Regions from separate parts of the Homo sapiens genome. Here regions 2, 3, 4, 5 and 6 are each linked to region 1. Evidence: promoter capture Hi-C in 16 types of primary human blood cells and fetal thymus (Javierre and others, 2016). All regions are on one chromosome and are shown on one strand. Each heading gives the region's core, a stretch centred on a gene start or on the middle of the fragment in contact. The rest is flanking DNA. Distances are from core to core; before and after follow the strand shown.

What was found. Contacts are between HindIII fragments. The CHiCAGO score rates a contact against its expected background, and 5 or more counts as called.
Region 2: a contact is called between the fragment with the promoter of TMED5 here and the fragment with the promoter of ALG14 in region 1, in 1 of 17 cell types (naive CD8 T cells). The highest score is 8.2, in naive CD8 T cells.
Region 3: a fragment that was not itself captured here is called in contact with the fragment with the promoter of ALG14 in region 1 in 1 of 17 cell types (naive CD8 T cells); the score reaches 5.5 in naive CD8 T cells.
Region 4: the fragment with the promoter of DR1 here is called in contact with the fragment with the promoter of ALG14 in region 1 in 2 of 17 cell types (naive CD4 T cells and total CD4 T cells); the score reaches 7.9 in naive CD4 T cells.
Region 5: the fragment with the promoter of DNTTIP2 here is called in contact with the fragment with the promoter of ALG14 in region 1 in 8 of 17 cell types (activated CD4 T cells, non-activated CD4 T cells, total CD8 T cells and 5 more); the score reaches 18.0 in activated CD4 T cells.
Region 6: a fragment that was not itself captured here is called in contact with the fragment with the promoter of ALG14 in region 1 in 2 of 17 cell types (activated CD4 T cells and non-activated CD4 T cells); the score reaches 7.0 in activated CD4 T cells.

What each region holds. Positions count from the first base shown.
Region 1 is chr1:95,071,452-95,074,525 of GRCh38, reverse strand. ALG14 (ALG14 UDP-N-acetylglucosaminyltransferase subunit) reads left to right here and starts at 1,575. Exons shown (of 4, transcript NM_144988.4): 1 at 1,575-1,763. The coding sequence starts at 1,628. RefSeq lists enhancers at 1,454-1,813, 2,054-2,133. The HindIII fragment of the contact is 2,572 bases long and covers 1,237-3,074 here.
Region 2 is chr1:93,179,114-93,181,831 of GRCh38, reverse strand. It overlaps TMED5 (transmembrane p24 trafficking protein 5), which reads left to right and starts at 1,419. Exons shown (of 4, transcript NM_016040.5): 1 at 1,419-1,778. The coding sequence starts at 1,590. CCDC18 (coiled-coil domain containing 18) reads right to left here and starts at 1,108. Exons shown (of 29, transcript NM_001378204.1): 1 at 980-1,108. RefSeq lists enhancers at 809-1,018, 1,889-2,038 and a silencer at 1,079-1,358. The HindIII fragment of the contact is 9,002 bases long and covers 1-2,718 here.
Region 3 is chr1:93,894,669-93,897,578 of GRCh38, reverse strand. It overlaps GCLM (glutamate-cysteine ligase modifier subunit), which reads left to right. Exons shown (of 7, transcript NM_002061.4): 5 at 759-961; 6 at 2,851-2,910. Among named protein-coding and RNA genes, the nearest start is that of GCLM, 13 kb to the left of the region's middle. The HindIII fragment of the contact is 2,691 bases long and covers 315-2,910 here.
Region 4 is chr1:93,344,534-93,347,419 of GRCh38, reverse strand. It overlaps DR1 (down-regulator of transcription 1), which reads right to left and starts at 1,513. Exons shown (of 3, transcript NM_001938.3): 1 at 555-1,513. The coding sequence starts at 774. It overlaps CCDC18-AS1 (CCDC18 antisense RNA 1), which reads left to right and starts at 1,609. Exons shown (of 9, transcript NR_034089.1): 1 at 1,609-1,696. RefSeq lists enhancers at 674-883, 944-1,013, 1,383-1,918. The HindIII fragment of the contact is 13,248 bases long and covers 1-2,026 here.
Region 5 is chr1:93,877,728-93,880,586 of GRCh38, reverse strand. It overlaps DNTTIP2 (deoxynucleotidyltransferase terminal interacting protein 2), which reads left to right and starts at 1,381. Exons shown (of 7, transcript NM_014597.5): 1 at 1,381-1,510; 2 at 2,725-2,859. The coding sequence starts at 1,439. RefSeq lists enhancers at 559-1,374, 1,226-1,655. The HindIII fragment of the contact is 5,310 bases long and covers 1-1,872 here.
Region 6 is chr1:93,838,530-93,841,344 of GRCh38, reverse strand. It overlaps a transcript of BCAR3 not described here. Among named protein-coding and RNA genes, the nearest start is that of MIR760, 6.9 kb to the left of the region's middle. RefSeq lists a silencer at 1,765-1,965. The HindIII fragment of the contact is 1,011 bases long and covers 875-1,885 here.

The sequences.
Region 1 (3,074 bases), core at 326-2,825:
AAAAAAAAAAAAAAAAATAGCCAGGCATGGTGGTGCATGCCTGTAGTCCCAGCTACTTGGGAGGCTGAGGCAGGAGAATCGCTTGAACCTGGGAGGTGGGGGTTGCAGTGAGCCAAGATTGTGCCACTGCACTCCAGCCAAGCGACAGAGTGAGACTCTGTCTCAAAAAAAAAAAAAAAGAAAAGAAAAGAAAAGAAAGAAGATTTGATGGAAGACAATTTGGAAAGTGTTGTAAGGTCCACGGACTCTACTCACAAAGTCTCCCAAACTTGCTTGCTGATAGGAATGGACACGCTGGTTACATAAGCTAATCCCAGGTGCCCGATCCCCGGAAATTCTGATTCAGTGTTTCCTAATGGACCCTGGGAGTCTGCACCTTTAATAACACATTCTAGGCTCCAGGTAAGTGTGGTGATCAGGCAAGTTTGAATTTAGCAAAGGAATACAGGATGCAGTACTCCTGTCCAGCAGGACTCAGATTTCTGGTTTCTGATTCTAGATCTGACGCTATTCCACTTGGGCAAGCAGTTGCACCTTTCTGAACCTTTTTACTCATCTGTATACCTGTTCAATATAACCTACAGGTAGGTCTATGGTGGACCGAAGGCAAATTATATTTGGGGTGAAGGGGCTCCTGATCTTAGTATTTTATGTTGTCGTAATGTGGATTAATTAGACATAATTAATTTATTAACAATTAATTAATTAGACATAAGCAAAATTGAGATTGAAGGGGGTGTTGGCAGATCATCATTTTGGCTGAGGACATGAGAAACACACTGGAAATGCTTTGTGATAAAATTAACTGAATATTAATTGTAGGACTGTGCCTTGTCTATCCTGCTACCTAGAGCCACTGAGCTTTGCAATCCTCTTAGGAGTGTGGCTTACCTTTAGGTGGTCACCCTCAACTACTCTGGTCACACTGAGAGCTGTGAAAACCTCGAGAAAAGTTAAAAACATACATGTTGGGAGACAGGGGGTTTGGATGAGGGCCCTAAATTCGATGTTTAAGCCTAGGGTCCTTACTGGCGAACACTTTCAGTAATGTCTGTGTGCAACAGAAACATTTCTCTTGGCATTAAAAAAAAAAAAAGAAAGAAAGAAAGGATGTATTCCCTTAGCTTCAGGTGGCATTCACGAAGTTGACAGAGCCAGAACACCTCCTAACTGGGGAGTTTCGGGACCTTTAGGGCGCAGAGACTGCCTGACCTCGTCGTGGGCGTAAATCAAGCTTCCCCAGCGCTTAACTTTACAATTTTCAGCTTACGCTTGGCTGCAGCTGCGCACAATCCGCGCAGAAGCAGGGGTTCCGCTGACAAACGTGAACGTACAGAACGTAGAAACCTTTTAACGCTAATATGCAGTTTCCCTGTATGGCTGTTGTGCATTATTAATCTAGGTATTGCGTATTTAGTTTAGGAAACACGAATACTACATGATAAATGAGGTAAAATGGATTGTGACTGGGACCTCAGCTTCTCCGTCGCCTCCACTCCTCCCAGCTCAGGAAAGACCAGCCCACCAAGACGTGCGTCCTCCGCGTTTGAGTCGCTTCGGCACCCGTAGTTGTGAACTTTGACAGCGGCTGGTCCCCGGAAGTTGGACGCATGCGCCGTTTCTCTGCATGGTGTGCGTTCTCGTTCTAGCTGCGGCCGCAGGAGCTGTGGCGGTTTTCCTAATCCTGCGAATATGGGTAGTGCTTCGTTCCATGGACGTTACGCCCCGGGAGTCTCTCAGTATCTTGGTAGTGGCTGGGTCCGGTAAGTATCGAGGAGGCGACTGTCGGACTTGGGTTGGTCACTACAAACCCCAGAGTGCACCGCGACGCTCTTCCCTGGTACCCTTAGCACTTCTTGGAGTGTTGCATGCAGAGATTTGTAGTTTCTCTGCCTTGCCGGAACCGGGCAGTCCAGCCAGGGTAGGGGCTGGTTTGCTGACGCGGCCCAGAGGTTTTTTTTATGACAAGTAATTTACACTTGTCTATAATTAAGACTCTCTGTAGCGTATATTTTTCAAACAATTAGTGAACAGAGAACGTAGAAGCCTTTTGATGCAAACATGCAGTTTCCCCGTATGGCTGTTGTGCATTATTAATCTAGGTATTGCGTATTTAGTTTAGGAAACACGAATGCTACATGACAAATGAGGCAAAATGAATTGTCACATTTATAAATATACAAAGTCCAAGAGGATAAAAACAATGATCTACGGGCTGTAGAACAATACACACGCGGTGGCAGAGTGTGAGCAACACACTGACCTGTCAGGTAATACAATCTAAATCCACCAACTCTGTAGGTGCTTACAATTTTAAATACACATATTTGACAGGGACAGACAGACACACACAGACACAATGTAAACATTTGGGTATGGCAGGAGATTGCATCCAGATAGAACATGTATAGTATGAGTAAATGTACTAAGTTTATGTTCAAGTATAACGCATTACTTTATTCACTTAATCTGTTTTGAGCTGTTAGAAAGACCAAACACTAAACTAACCTCTGGAAATAACAAAACTGACTAACATTACTTGCCACGGAGTGCTGACTCCGTGCTAAGTCCTGTGAGAGATGCAAAGATACAGCAGTAAATGAAATAGAGAATACAAAAAAACTAACAGAAAATAAATCAAAATGAGTATTTGCCACAATGAGATAAATGCTATAATCTTGTAATAATTGTGTAAGAAGTACAAATTGCTATGGCAGTCTTCAGGAAGGGCACTACTTTATCAGGTCTTAAAAAACAGACAGCTTCCTGGAAGAAATGATGCTAAACTGAAACTTGAAAGATGACCCAGAATTAGTCAGATGAGGGACAGCCAGGGTTTCGAGGGCTGGGAGGATGTGAAAAGAAGGTGATAACACTTGGAATGACCAGAGTTGAGAGAACACTATCGTGTAGAGTTCAATGTAGGGAGGTAAACTGAGTCCAGATTGTAAAGAGTATTTAAAATCTTGCTTTTTTTCTTTTTTATACAGAGTCTCACGCTGTTGCCCAGGCTGGAGGGCAGTGGCGCAGTCTCAGCTCACTGCAACTCCACCTCCCAAATTCAAGCCATTCTC
Region 2 (2,718 bases), core at 170-2,669, 1.9 Mb after region 1:
CAACCTGGCCAAGATGGTGAAACCCCGTATCTACTAAAAATACAAAAAAATTAGCCGGGGGTGGTGGCGAGCGCCTGTAATCTCAGCTACTCGGGAGGCTGAGGCAGAGAATTGCTTGAACCTGGGAGGCGGAGGTTGCAGTGAGCCGAGATCGCGCCACTGCACTCCAGCCTGGGCGACAGAGTGAGACTCGGTCTCAAAAAAAAAAGAAAGAACTCCCTAACTCTTCTGCAGTAGCAATGAATATATTTGATACTAAAATGTTTTCATTTTCCTAGTGGGACATTTACTGTCAAATGAATGTCCTTAACTTCAATTTACAGTAGTTACCCAAAAAAGGCTATCTTCACTGACTATGCATACCTAGAAAAGCACATCATCCTACTCACCGACCTTAACAACATCATCTTTCGGCCCTAATTAACAATGTGTTTGTAGGTTTGCACACGCACACCCATCAAACGAAGGACAAGTGTTCTTTTATACCCTATGTATGTGATACAATGGGCTGTAGTCGAAAAAGATTCCTCATTTTGGAAAGAAGTCATAACTTTATGTAGTAGTCTCCTGTCTCAAGATCGCTTGACACAGCTAATCTTACATCCGTCTGAAAGAAGCGGGGGCGGGGGTGGGGGACGGAAGTGACAGTTTCCTCTTTTTTTTTTTTTTTTTAATTTTATAGAGACAGTGGCTCGCCATATTGCCAAGGCTGGCCTCGAACTCCTGGGCTCAAGCAATCCTTCCGCCTCGACATCCCAAAGTGCTGAGGTAACAGGCGTAAGCCACTGCGCCCGGCCTCCTATTTTTCATCAAATAAAATACAACCGTTCAGAGCAGCATGCTCAGCAACCACGAGGACCAGTCCCAGCGCATCCAAGGTGCCGGGAGGGAAAGGAACAGAACTCCCCCAGGTAAGCCGGTTTCCCCACGCCAAGGCGCAGTCGCTCACCACCCAAATCGTCGCTGGGGAGAGACCCACCCGGCGACTGCGCGCTTCGCACTCGAGTCTGCGTTAGGAAGCCTCTGACCCTTTCCCGGGCCCCTGCGCGTGGAAGCCTCGGACACAACTCGGAGAACCAGCGAACCCCGGCAGCACAGAATTCGAACCGCCGCGGGAGCCGTTGGGACGCGCCTACCCGGTCACTGCCCCGCCCCGGCGCAGACTGCGTGAGGCGCCGCCGAAGGCGCGGGGCTTGCCGGGGATCGTGGTCGGCGAGCGCGCCCGAGCCCACTAGCGGAGCCCGCCCGGGACTACATTTCCCACAATTACCGCCATGATGCCCATTGGTGGGGGAAGCCATGGGAACCGGAGGCCGTCAGGGGGAGAGGCGGGCGGCGCTCACGCCTGGCCTGAGGGGGCCGAGACTGAGGCGGTTGCGGAATAGGACTGCTAGCCCCGCCCAGAGTCCCTACCCTTTGGAGAACTGCGCTTCTCTTTCGGAGGGAGTGTTCGCCGCCGCCGCGGCCGCCACCTGGAGTTTCTTCAGACTCCAGATTTCCCTGTCAACCACGAGGAGTCCAGAGAGGAAACGCGGAGCGGAGACAACAGTACCTGACGCCTCTTTCAGCCCGGGATCGCCCCAGCAGGGATGGGCGACAAGATCTGGCTGCCCTTCCCCGTGCTCCTTCTGGCCGCTCTGCCTCCGGTGCTGCTGCCTGGGGCGGCCGGCTTCACACCTTCCCTCGATAGCGACTTCACCTTTACCCTTCCCGCCGGCCAGAAGGAGTGCTTCTACCAGCCCATGCCCCTGAAGGCCTCGCTGGAGATCGAGTACCAAGTAAGTGCGGAGGATAAACCAGCCTCCTTCCTTTAACCCAGCTGCACTGCGTTGTCGCCTCTCACCCGTTTAGAAACTTCTGGTGGACGGCCCTGGTGGTGAAGAGGCGAGGGCCGTTCAGGAAGCCAGCCCGCTCCGCGCAGGCGCGCGAGGCGAGGCGAGGCTCTCGCTGGGGCCGGGGACCCAGAACTTAGGCTGGACCTGGAATTGATGACTACCCGCCTTCTCCCCTTTCCTCCGGTGGGAAGGAGGCCAGAACTGGTGATGTCGCTGGCTTTTCTCTTTGTTTCCTAATTCGCCCACTGCTTTTCTTAGCCACTACACGCTCTCATACTGAGAATTTCACAATGCAGAACTGATACACGTTCTCCTTCATCATTGGACAAGGTGATGACACTTGTTTGAATCACCCCCACCCCTTTCACACAGTTCAGATGTTACAAATCACTGTCTTTGCTTCAGTTAAGGGTTTTTGGATTATGATCGTGTAATTGGCATTAAGCCCGATTTTGAAATTTTTTGGAAGACGCTGTTGCTATATTTAATGATACATTTCCGTTTAAGTTATATATCCATTATTTTCAAAAGATCAAATCGTATATTAAAACTTTATAACCTTTCTTTTCATTTTTTCATTGAGCATTGTAAGCATTTCCCTCGTGTCATTGTTTTTTTTTTTTTTTTTTGAGACGGAGTCTCGCTTTGTTGCTCAAGCTAGAGTTGGAGTGCAGTGGCGCTATCTCGGCTCATTGCAACCTCCGCCTCCCGGGTTCAAGCGATTCTCCTGCCTCAGCCTTCCGAGTAGCTGAGATTACAGACGTGCGCCACCATGCCCAGCTAATTTTTGTATTTTTAGTAGAGACGGGGTTTCACCATGTTGGCCAGGCTGGTCTCGAACTCCCGACCTCAGGCGATCCACCCGCCTCGGCCTCCCAAAGTG
Region 3 (2,910 bases), core at 411-2,910, 1.2 Mb after region 1:
CTTAGCCCTTTTAGTACTAGAGGTGAAATATCAAAACCAAACAACGGCAAAAAAAAAAAAATCCAAAAAAAATCCAAGTATATCTGTTTTTAGCACTTAGGTTATTGTGATATTAAAGTTATTCAATACTTAAATAAAAAATTATTCCAGTATTTACATATATTGAAAACTTAAATAATTGGCTCTTTAATGTAACTTTAGAATGAATAATCATTTAAAATAAGCTCTTAAATTATTTTTATAGAATTAAGAAATTATCTACCTCTATAAATATGGATTAAGACCAAACATTCAGTTTTTCAGTGTCTCAAGCTTATTCTTTGCTGTGACTACTAGTTACAGAATATTAGGTCATAATTCTTGTGATCATCCATATGCGATAGTAGTGAGCAAGTAGAACTGGAGAAGAAAATTTTATGAAGATAAGGGAGCTACTAAAAACTTCTGGGACCTAGGAAACAAGAAGAAATTTTGTTCCCTAGAAAGAGGAGCATGTAGTAGTAGCTGCAAGCTGCCTAGGAATAAGGCAGGTCAGAGAAACCCACTTGTCTGCCACACAGAGCAAGTAGGTAAATGGGCACTTACACATTTTTGAAAGATAGAAATGTTCTAAATGAAAAGTAAACTATGAAATAATCTGTTATTTTGAAAACAAGTGAAGAATATGGACAGAATTCAGTGGGATACTTTGAAAACATTAGAAATATTTGTTTTTATGATGTAAGCATTTATTTTCTTTGTGTCTTCCTTCCTATCAGCCTGTTCAGTCCTTGGAGTTGCACAGCTGGATTCTGTGATCATTGCTTCACCTCCTATTGAAGATGGAGTTAATCTTTCCTTGGAGCATTTACAGCCTTACTGGGAGGAATTAGAAAACTTAGTTCAGAGCAAAAAGATTGTTGCCATAGGTACCTCTGATCTAGACAAAACACAGTTGGAACAGCTGTATCAGTGGGCACAGGTGAGGGATGGCAGGATCATGAGCACTCCAGGAAGAACTTGCCCTTTTCAGTCTTTGCTGCACACTGTTGAGCATCATGCACATAGTGGCCACCCCTGCGGGGTGACTTTTCCACATGTGGGAGTTTTGTTTTGTTTCTGCAGGAGTTTTGAGGCAGGTTTTATCTAAATCATTTGAGGTTTTTGTTTGTTTTTATTTAAATATATCTCTGATTGAACTGAATGTTAATCCTGGTTAAAATGAGTGACAAAAATACTAGAAGATGTGTGTTAAAACATTTATACCAAATGAATTAAGGCCATTTCCTTCAGTTCTACTTATGTGCTGAAAACAATAATACCTAAAGAAAAACCTTACGGCCGGGTGTGGTGGCTCACATCTGTAATCCCAGCACTTTGGGAGGCCGAGGCGAGCAGATCATGAGGTCAGGAGTTCGAGACCAGCCTGACCAACATGGTGAAACCCTGTCTCTACTAAAAATAAAAAAATTAGCCAGGCATGGTGGCGTGCACCTGTAATCCCAGCTACTCAGGAGGGTGAGGCAGGAGAATCACTTGAACCTCAGAGGCGGAGGTTGCAGTGAGCTGAGATTGCGCCACTGTACTCCAGCCTGGGTGACAGAGCAAGACTCTGTCTCAAAAAAAAAAAAAAAAAGAAAGAAAAACCTTCTTTTTCTTTAGGTACTATTAGACCATGGCTCTAATTTCCTAAGTAAGGGAATATTTTATATATAACAGATATTTTGCTGTTATTCAAAGATGTGTAAGACTGTCAGTTCATACAACTTGATATGGAGTGAGTGTCATAAATTAATTATTCCCACTCTCTGGTCTAATAACCTACAAAATTATTAGGAAAGTCACTTACTAGCGTTTTACCTTTACTCTCAGTATTTCTTTATTCCTTTTACTTCTTCTTCAGCCTTCTCCTTTTCAGAGCTTTCAGAGTTTCTTATGGACAGGAAGACCTAGAGAAAGTATTTCCCCTTCTCCTTGATGATAGCCAGAATGAGGACAAGAAAGTATTGGAGAGACTTAGATGATTCAGAATGTAAATTAACCAGTGTAGCTACTGGAAGCTGTCAATTCTTCTCTTTCAAAATGTGTCTGATTCATAGCCATATTTTATACTTTAACATTAAAGGTATTTACTTGTATTTGATCCTTTACCTTTAAGAACTATTTGCTCTGTAGCTGAAACCATCACACTTAACAAACTAACAAAAATCATGTTTGTGTTCTAGGCAGATGTATTAGATTGTTAAATGGTTCTAGCAGGAGACTTTTTAATAGTGTAGTACCAGGCTGGGCATGGTGGCTCATGCCTGTAAGCCCAGCACTTTGGGAGGCCGAGGTGGGTAGATCACCTGAGGTCAGGAGTTCAAGACCAGCCTGACCAACATGGTGAAACCGCGTCTCTACTAAAAATACAAAAAATTAGCTGGGCATGGTGGCAGGCACCTGTAATCCCAGCTACTTGGGAGGCTGAGGCAGGAGAATTGCTTGCACCTGGTATGTGGAGGTTGCAGTGAGCCAAGATCACGCCACTGTACTCCAGCCTGGGCGACAGAGCAAGACTCCATCTCAAAAAAAAAAAAAAAAAAAAGTGTAGTACTGTTGGCTTTTTCGTTCCCCTAGTGTTACACTTCCTTTCCCTATTACATAGGGAAAAGGTAATAGGGAATTCCTATTCCCTATTACTACTAACCTGGGTTAGAAAAGCATATATTAATAAAGATATTAATGTAAAAGTATTTTGTAAACTTTAATCACTGTGGATTGTGATTTTTCATATGTTCTAAAATTAAGTTATTTTATTGCTTATTGCTTTCTACTTTTGGTATTATATTTAATTTAGTAGTGATATCATGATTTTATTTTCACTTCTAGGTAAAACCAAATAGTAACCAAGTTAATCTTGCCTCCTGCTGTGTGATGCCACCAGATTTG
Region 4 (2,886 bases), core at 264-2,763, 1.7 Mb after region 1:
AACCATTTTTAGAGCAGAAAACATACACCTTTTATTTAACAACGATAAACTTGACAACGTTGAACACATTGTATGTTAAGAATTTTTTAACTCATGTGTTCAGAAAATAAATCTTTTCCTCTACATTGGTGAAAGGTCAGGTGGGGAAGGGGGTGCTCTGTCTCCACCCACGTTGAAGTTCCTCCGTCTGAATTTTAACTTTCCAAAGGAGAATTTCTGCGTTCCTTAATTATTATCTAAGTTCAACTTCAGGCAAGTAATTCTTGTTGCTTCGGCTTACCTGGCTGTAAAGTGAGATCACTCTTATTCTTTACGTTTTGGGGACGCTGACCTAAATGTTTGCACTCCTTACATGTATTCGCTGGATGAAAAGTACTGCAAAAATGCTACAAAGGGATTGTTTTTAAAGCACCGGCTGCCTACATGCCAGTCTGGCTTTTTCATTAAGTTACTTACCAGGGAAGAGGAATGGAGGCTTTGACACGAAAGGGTCACGCGATTAGCAGACTGCTACCCTAGAACCTCATTCAAACCAGCTCTCACACACGACTTACCTTGTATGACATGCTCTGGTGAGATGGTCTTCTTTTCCGATTTGTTACAAATCTCATTGGCTTCAGAAGATATAAGGTGAATGAATTCAGTGCAGCAGTTCACCACCAGCTCTCGAGCATCGTTGGCCACCCGGACATTAGGAAGAGTCTCTTTGATCATTTTATTGATAGCAGCTCTGGGGATAGTGAGATCATCATCGTTGCCAGACGAGGAAGCCATAGTACCTTCCTGTTTCTCGCGCCCCGGCTTTTAAAAACTCCCCAGCTCTGGTCCACTACTCCACCGAGATTTCTCAAAAAGTCGCCCTCGGAGAGTGATCCCGGGGGGTGCTTTGCGAAGAGGGTGCAGAAAATGAACGGAGGAGCAGCTGGCTTGAGGGCTGGGAACACTCGCGTGTGTGAGAGATTTAGGATGAGTTTGGGAAGAAAGTGGGGGCCCGAGGATTCTAGAGAGAGCACAGCCCAGGCTGAGGAGGGGAAAGCGCGGTGGTCCGGAAATTTGAGCGGCTGGGGAACCACCTTCGTGTCTCCTCAGAGGGGCGGGCGCTGTCGCCTAACTGGTCCCCAACGGCGTCGGAGCAGAGGCAAGATCCAGGGGCACTGGCCTCGCCGCGGTACCGGGCGGGTACCCAGCGGGCTCGGCTCTATAGAGCCCGAGGCCCCGCTGCCGCTGCCGCCGCCGCCAGCAGCCGTTGCCGCCGCCTCGGCCAAACCATCCTTCAGACACCCGCGCCGCCGCCTCACAACATGTCCGCCGCTGCCGCTGCCGCTGCCGCTGCTGGAACGGCGACGGCCGCCTGGGAACTAATATGGACAGAGCCAGGCACAGTGGGAGTCGCAGTGGCTGCCGCCGTGGCCGCGTAGCCCGAACGCAGATCGTGGAAGCCGAAGACGCGGCAACGGTGGTCCCTCCAGATGCCAGGGAAGGTTTGCAGGAAGCCGCTCCCGACACCCTTTGCGCCACCGGAAGCCTCGTTCCCTCAGATTTCCCCCTCCCTCCCGGACCGACTTCCGGGTGTGGCTGCCGCCCTTCCCCCACCCACGCCGGCGGGAGCCGCCCGTTCGCGCTGCCAGCAGCTTCCGCCTGCTACGGTCCTGGCAAGCACCTCGGGATCCCATTCCTTCACAGGGACCCTAGCCAGGCAAGCGCGCGCCTCACTGTACCGGAGAGCTCCAAGCACGCGCTTGGTCTGGGGCCCGGACGCTACATCTGGGAAGGGGTGGGTGGCTGGGTAGATAGGCGAGGAAGGATCGTCTCTACCCTCTCTCAAGTAGCTGAGGCCTCCGAAACCTTCCCTAGCTGGATTTGGGGACAGAGGAGCGCTGGTATTGATAAAATAACTCTCTTTGCTATTCCTTTAGGAGCCCAAATGAGGATTGAAAGTGAGAAGAATGGGACCTGGGCTTGGGGGTGGGAGGTGGGGAAAGCAGAACCCCGTGTGCCTGTTTCTGCGTCGTCTGGAGAAAAAGCTTTTCAAGATGTCTGATAGACCTTATTCGGTTCAAAGCTCTCTAAAGTCCTTCACCTTTTTTTTTTTAAACTTCATGAAAAATGAAACATTTCAGAGAAGTTACTTGCCTAGAGGCAACTAAGTCGCCTAATGGCTAAGTAGGAAAGCAGAAGTCAGTTCCAACATAGTGGAAATGGAGTGGAAATGCATGGCATACAATGAGCTATATTAGAAGGTTCCCATTTAGACAGTTTTCATGTTGTATTCCATGTTGGCTTCTACAGGGGAAAAAAGTGTTAGAGCATCTTAAGCAACTGTTTTTACTTCTTTCCATAGTGACTAGTAATATCAACAGGTGTCAAGGTCTAAACAGAAATTGCATTTAAAAAAAAAAAAAGTGTGTCAGCCAGGCGTTGTGGCTCATCATACCTGTAAACCCAACACTTTGGGAGGCTGAGGCAGGGGGATCACATGAGCCCAGGAGTTCAAGACCCGCCTGGGCAACATAGTGAGACCCGTCCCTACAAAAAAAAAAAATATATATATATATATATATAATATATATTTATATATATAAATATATATTCCAACATCCCACTGTTTATAGTATAGCCTCTTCTATATGACAATATGAAACACGGGTTTTTTTTTCACCAGGCTTGGTGGCAGGCACCCGTAGTCCCGGCTACTCTGGAGGGCGAGGTGGGAGGATCGATTGAGCCAGGGGGTCAAGGCTGCAGTGAGTTGCGGTTGTGCCACTGCACTTCCAGCCTGGGTGACAGAACAAGATTCTTTGTCTCAAAAAAGATAAAAAAAAAAAAAAAGTAAAAAAACTGAGTCTGTCATACTGTCATGTGGAAGAAGAGGCTATACTATAAATA
Region 5 (2,859 bases), core at 132-2,631, 1.2 Mb after region 1:
CATCCTTATGGCACAAACTTGCCGCCTGAAAACCAGCGAACCCAACTTTCCAGGAAGTAAAATGCACTTTAAAAGATCAGGAGGGCTGGGCGAGGTCGTTTAGGCCTATAATCCCAGCACTGTAATCCCAGCACTTTGAGAGGCCGAGGCGGGTGAATCACCTGAAGGCAGGAGTTCAAGACCAGCCTGCCCAACATGGTGAAACCCCGTCTCTACTAAAAATACAAAAAAAAAATTAGCCAGGAATGGTGGCGGGCGCCTGTAATCTCAGCTACTCAGGAGGCTGAAGCAGGAGAATCGCTTGAACCCGGGAGGCGGAGGTTGCAGTGACCCAAGATTGCGCCATTGCACTCCACCCTGGGCGACAGAGCAAGACTCCGTCTCCAAAAAAAAAAGTCAGGGACGGCCTCCTCTCTTTTAGATGCCGTCCCTAAAGACATGCACACAATTTATACCTAATTGGCTAAAACGTAGTCACATAGCCACATTTGGCTGCAAGAGAGACTATAAAATAAGCTATTTTAAGCTGGGAAGCAGTGTGTCCATCGACACAGTGTTCTGTGACTTTAAATAAAAAATTGGTTTTCTGTCATGAAGTAGAGACTAGGTTTGGTGAGGCACTCATTCATCCTTTCTCACCTCCAACAATAATTTGCGTTTACTTATTTTTTCAACCCCTTCCCATCCCCTCAAACATAGTTCTCTACCTTTTATCTCAAAAGATAACCAAAGAAACCTCTTGATTCTGGTCATACTCTTCCTTTCACTGTGACAATAACAACAACAACAACAACAACAAAACCTTATTCTTCTCCTTTACAATTTCTTTAACGTTTTTTTCTTTTCTGCTATTCCCAATCCCTAAACACCATCTCACGTTTAGATTATACAGCTTTCCACTTCGTCTCCCAGTTCCTGCGAGCACCTTATATCCCTTTTACCCCAACCAAGTCCTTAAATTTTATTTATAGTTAGCGTCACAATACACGAGTAAATATTGTCTTTCTTTAAAAAGCACAAATATCTCAAACTTCTCCCTTGGACATACCAATGGCTACATTAAGCTCTTTAGAACGTAGAAATGAAAGAACGCCTCCCGGGTTCAAACGATTCTACTAAACAAATGAAAGAACGAATGGCATGTAAGTGCGTTTTTACAATTCATGTGAACGGGTACGCTAAGACCCTCTGTCACTGCGGGCTTCGCCGCCCCGATGAAGGTCTTTCCCAGCAAAAATCTGGCTTGCCTTCTACAGCTCTGAAATGCACACTTAAACCCAGGCCCTTTGTCTCTGACCGCCCTGGCCTGAACTGGCTGGGCGGAGATTCTCGCGAATTCTCGGATCTGCGCGGAAAACGCGCTCGAGGCAGTTCTCTGACGCATTTCCGGAGCGCCAGGGAAGAGGGAAGTCGTGGTGGTCGCGAGGGAGCCGGAAAGATGGTGGTTACCAGATCTGCACGGGCTAAGGCCAGCATCCAAGCCGCGTCGGCTGAAAGTTCCGGGCAAAAGGTAGGAAATCCAGTCTTCCCTACTTCTCGCCGCTTCGCAGAGCCGCGCTCAGGCAGGCGGGGCGGCGCAAGGGTCCGGTTAAGGGTGAGGACCTGCCGACAGAGAGGACCCGAGCTTGCCGCGCGCTTGGGTCTCCCAGGCCCCGTGCTAAGCCTGTCACGGAAACTGTTTAGCCTTCACCACTGTCTCTTAAGGCAATTTTTAGTATGGAAGAGAGGTTAGATAACTTTATTTGGGTCGTTCAACTCCTTAATGCAGAAGCACAGTTCGAACTTTTAAACCTTACTGTTAACACGGTACCAAGGAGGGTTAATTTCGGCCACCATGCACAAGCCCCATTTAGGGGGGCTGGAAAAAAAGCTTCGTTTTCACGTGGGGAGGCTGGCAGCTGTCCAGCATCACCTCCTTAAGGCGTGAGGAGGGCTGTGGTGTCGTCGCCTGGTGACTCTTAGTGGCGTTAGTCGGCTGTCTCATTCTGACTCAGCGATGCAGGGAACGGAGCGGCGGCGATTTTTTCCTGTACGTAAAGGTAAGGGCGGCGACTGATTCCATCAGTGTGTTCCTAAACACATCGGTGTTCAGAGTTAATATTCCCTTTCTCCCCTCTTCTATAGGTGGGTCAGAATGTTGGTCTACCCATTATATTTGACTTTAAACAGAAAAATTTTAATCGTTCTGCTTCTGAAGTTACATCTAGGAAGGATGAGGCTAGTGAAGTAAATGCAGGGTTGGCTCCAGTGTTTAAATTTTGATTTTTTTGTTTGTTTGTTTTTGATTCGGAGTCTTGCTCTGTCGCCCAGGCTAGAGTGCAGTGGCGCAGCCTCGGCTCACTGCAACTTCTGCCTCCCGGATTCCAACAATTCTTCTGCCTCAGGCTCCTGAGTAGTTGGGATTACAGGTGCGCACCAACACGCCCCGCTAATTTTTTTACTTTGAGTAGAGATGGGGTTTCACTATGTTGGCCAAGCTGTCTCGAACTCCTGACCTCGTGATCCACCTGCCTCGGCCTCCCAGAGTGCTGGGATTACAGCCGTAAGCCACCGCGCCCGGCCAAATTTTGATTTTTTAAAAATCATGAGTTGGGCAGGTTTTTTTGTTTTTTGTTTTAAAGGTAATCTTGTTTACTGGGTTTTAGCTTTTGGGGTCAGTATTTCATTTGCTTTGCCCTTGTTCCAGCCCTACCTAAATTACAGTGTGTTTTCTCTGGTTTGCAGAGTTTTGCTGCTAATGGGATTCAAGCGCATCCAGAAAGTAGTACTGGATCTGATGCCCGAACTACTGCTGAATCACAGACCACTGGGAAGCAAAGTTTAATCCCTAGAACTCCTAAAGCTAGAAAGAGGAAGAGC
Region 6 (2,815 bases), core at 131-2,630, 1.2 Mb after region 1:
ACAAGTCTCTTGGGACCCTTTGGTGAAGAAGACAAATGCTGTCCTTGCTGCCATGGACCTTGCAATCTTGAGCAAAGTCAGACAGCAGAGCATGAATGAGTATAGGAAATGGGCTTGACTTAAGAGATACAGCTGAGAAAGTCAGTGGGGCAAAGATCCGGAAGCGCTTCAAATGCAAGGCTAAGGAGCCTGGGGTTGAGCAGCCCCATGTCACCTCCTCCGAGAATTTTCCCAGACATTCTTCTGCAGCCTAGTCTGCTGGTGGTGGGGAGGGACTCCTGGATTCCCAAGGTACTTTCAAAGCTCTATAATTTTCTGTGTGGTTTTCTATCTCTTCTCCCAGACAATAAGCATCTTGGGGGAGTGGGAGGAAAGTGGGGGGAGCACGTCTTCTTTTCCTTTATCTTTGTAACCTCAGTCCCTAGCATTGTGGCTAGCTCACAACAAGTAGCTTTGAATATTGATTGAACAAATGAATGAGTCCTGTAGGCAATAAGGAAGCTACTTGACTATGTGCCTAGCTTATCTTCTGCATTAGACCAGAAGCTCTTGAAAGCTAAACATCCGTGCTTTCTAACTGTTTTGTAATTCTCCCCAAGGCTTGGCAGAATATCATGTACACAGTGGACACTCCATAAATGATGCCTGAATGCGTTTGTGGAAGTAGAAGTGGATCTTCAGTGTCCTAATTCCTGCTTTCAGTGACCCAGTTTGGGGGAGTAGGTCTTAAATTTCTTCCCCTCAGAATGACATCTCTGCCTTTTAAGTTCTCAACAAACTAGTAGGATGACTTCTTCTGGTAAGCATATTTGGAAGGAAAGGCATTCTGAGCCCCACTCGTGGGCCTCACAACAAATAACCATCTATTAAAGCTTAGTGAATCTTAATTGTTTAGCAGTTGAAAATAATAATGAAGTAATAACGCATCACACCAGGCACTTTTCTGGGTTCTTCATGTATATCAGACCTCACTTAATCTTCATAACAACCCTCTAAGGTAGGCAGGATCATTGCCCCATTCCCAGATGGGAAGGCAAACCACAGGGAAAGCAGCAGGATTGAATCCAGGCACCTGTCCCCAAGTTCACATATACCCTGGACTACAGCAGTTTCTCCTAGAAAAGAAATCAGGAGAGAATCAGCAAGCAACTGGGAGCAGACTTGTTAGACTAGCGGTCTTCAAACTCTACCACGCTCTAGAATCTTGATGCCCAGGATGCACCCTGAGGCCAGTTAAATCACAATTTCTGGGGATGGGACCCTGGCATCAGCATTTTTTTTAAACTCCCTAGGTGATTCTCATATGTAGCCAAATTTGAAAATAATGCCCTCTGCCCTTCCTGCAAAAATGCTGACCATGAACCAGGAGTATCAGCATGACCTGGGAGCAGATTAGAAATGCAGGCTCTCGGCCCCACCCTAGGCCTGCTGAATCAAATCTGTATTTTACTAAGATCCCCTCAGTGACTCATTTGCACTAAAGTTTAAAATGCACTGGTTTAGGGCTTAGGTATTCAAGCTCTCATTATTCCACTTGGGCTTCTGTTATTAGCATGAATTTAAATCCTTAATAAGCAAATCTCAAAACTCCATCAAAAAGCTCAGAATCAATCTGATATATTGGCCCAAAAAAATTACTTCAGAGGAAACTATGACCTTTTACTTCTCATTTTGTGAGGGAACTGAGGAAGAAAAGTTATATTGCTAATGGTGTCTAACAGAATGTAGATTCAGTCCAATCTAAAAGAGGCAGATGAATAACTCCTGGCTGCCTTCCTTCTTCTGAGTCAGAAGGATCAGGCCCACGACCTCAGTTAGGCAATGACCATACTTGAGTACCAAGCTGATTGATAAAGAAAATCCTCCAGCCAGAGGTATCTAAGCTTTCACAACTTCTGCTGTTTCCCCATGGTATGTTCCTGTTATAGACCCATAGATGAGATCAGCAATCCTTGTCCCAATTGAGATCTTGTTGTTTGTCATTCAGCTTTCTGAATCTAACTAGATACATTGCCCACTTTTTAGTTTAGTTTAGTTTTTTTCTTTTTATTTTCTTTTAGACTGAGTTTCACTCTTTTTGCCCAGGCTGGAGTGCAGTGCCACAATCTCGGCTCACTGCAACCTCCACGATTCAAGCGATTCTCCCACCTCAGCCTCCTGAGCAGCTGGGATTACAGGCACATGCCACCACGCCCAGCTAATTTTATATTTTTAGTAGAGATGGGGTTTCACCAGGCTGGTCTCAAACTCCTGAGCTCAGGTGATCCACCTGCCTCGGCCTCCCAAAGTGCTGGGATTACAGGCGTGAGCCACCACGCCTGGCACTTTTTAGTTTTTATTTGCCATTGCTTTGTTTATTTATAACTAAATAACTGAAATTTGGAACTAGACTCAGAATGTGTCCCAGTTCATCTGAAGGACATGGAGGTCCACTGGGATGCTCCTTATTTCACTATTTCACTATTTTTTGGTCTTTGCCCACTTTTTCCTTGAAATGATCCATTCTGTGCATTTTATTATATCTCAAGACATCAGGTAGATAGTCACAACCAGTAGCAAATACACCGGCTGAAATTGCCCTCCTTGCTTGGAATGTCTGCCCTTGAATGCAAATTATTTACTTCTGGATCCCTGACAGTGTAATTGTATAATAACTGCGTTTGTAGAATGGTAAGGTTAGCATCCCGTTTTTCTCAGATCTTCAGTAGCAGACTATAAATGACTAGAAAGGGGAGGGCTACTTAGTATCAAGTTTTTCAACACTAGTAATGGAGAGGTGCTATGGTTTGCATAGAGTTAGTTTGTCCCCACCAAA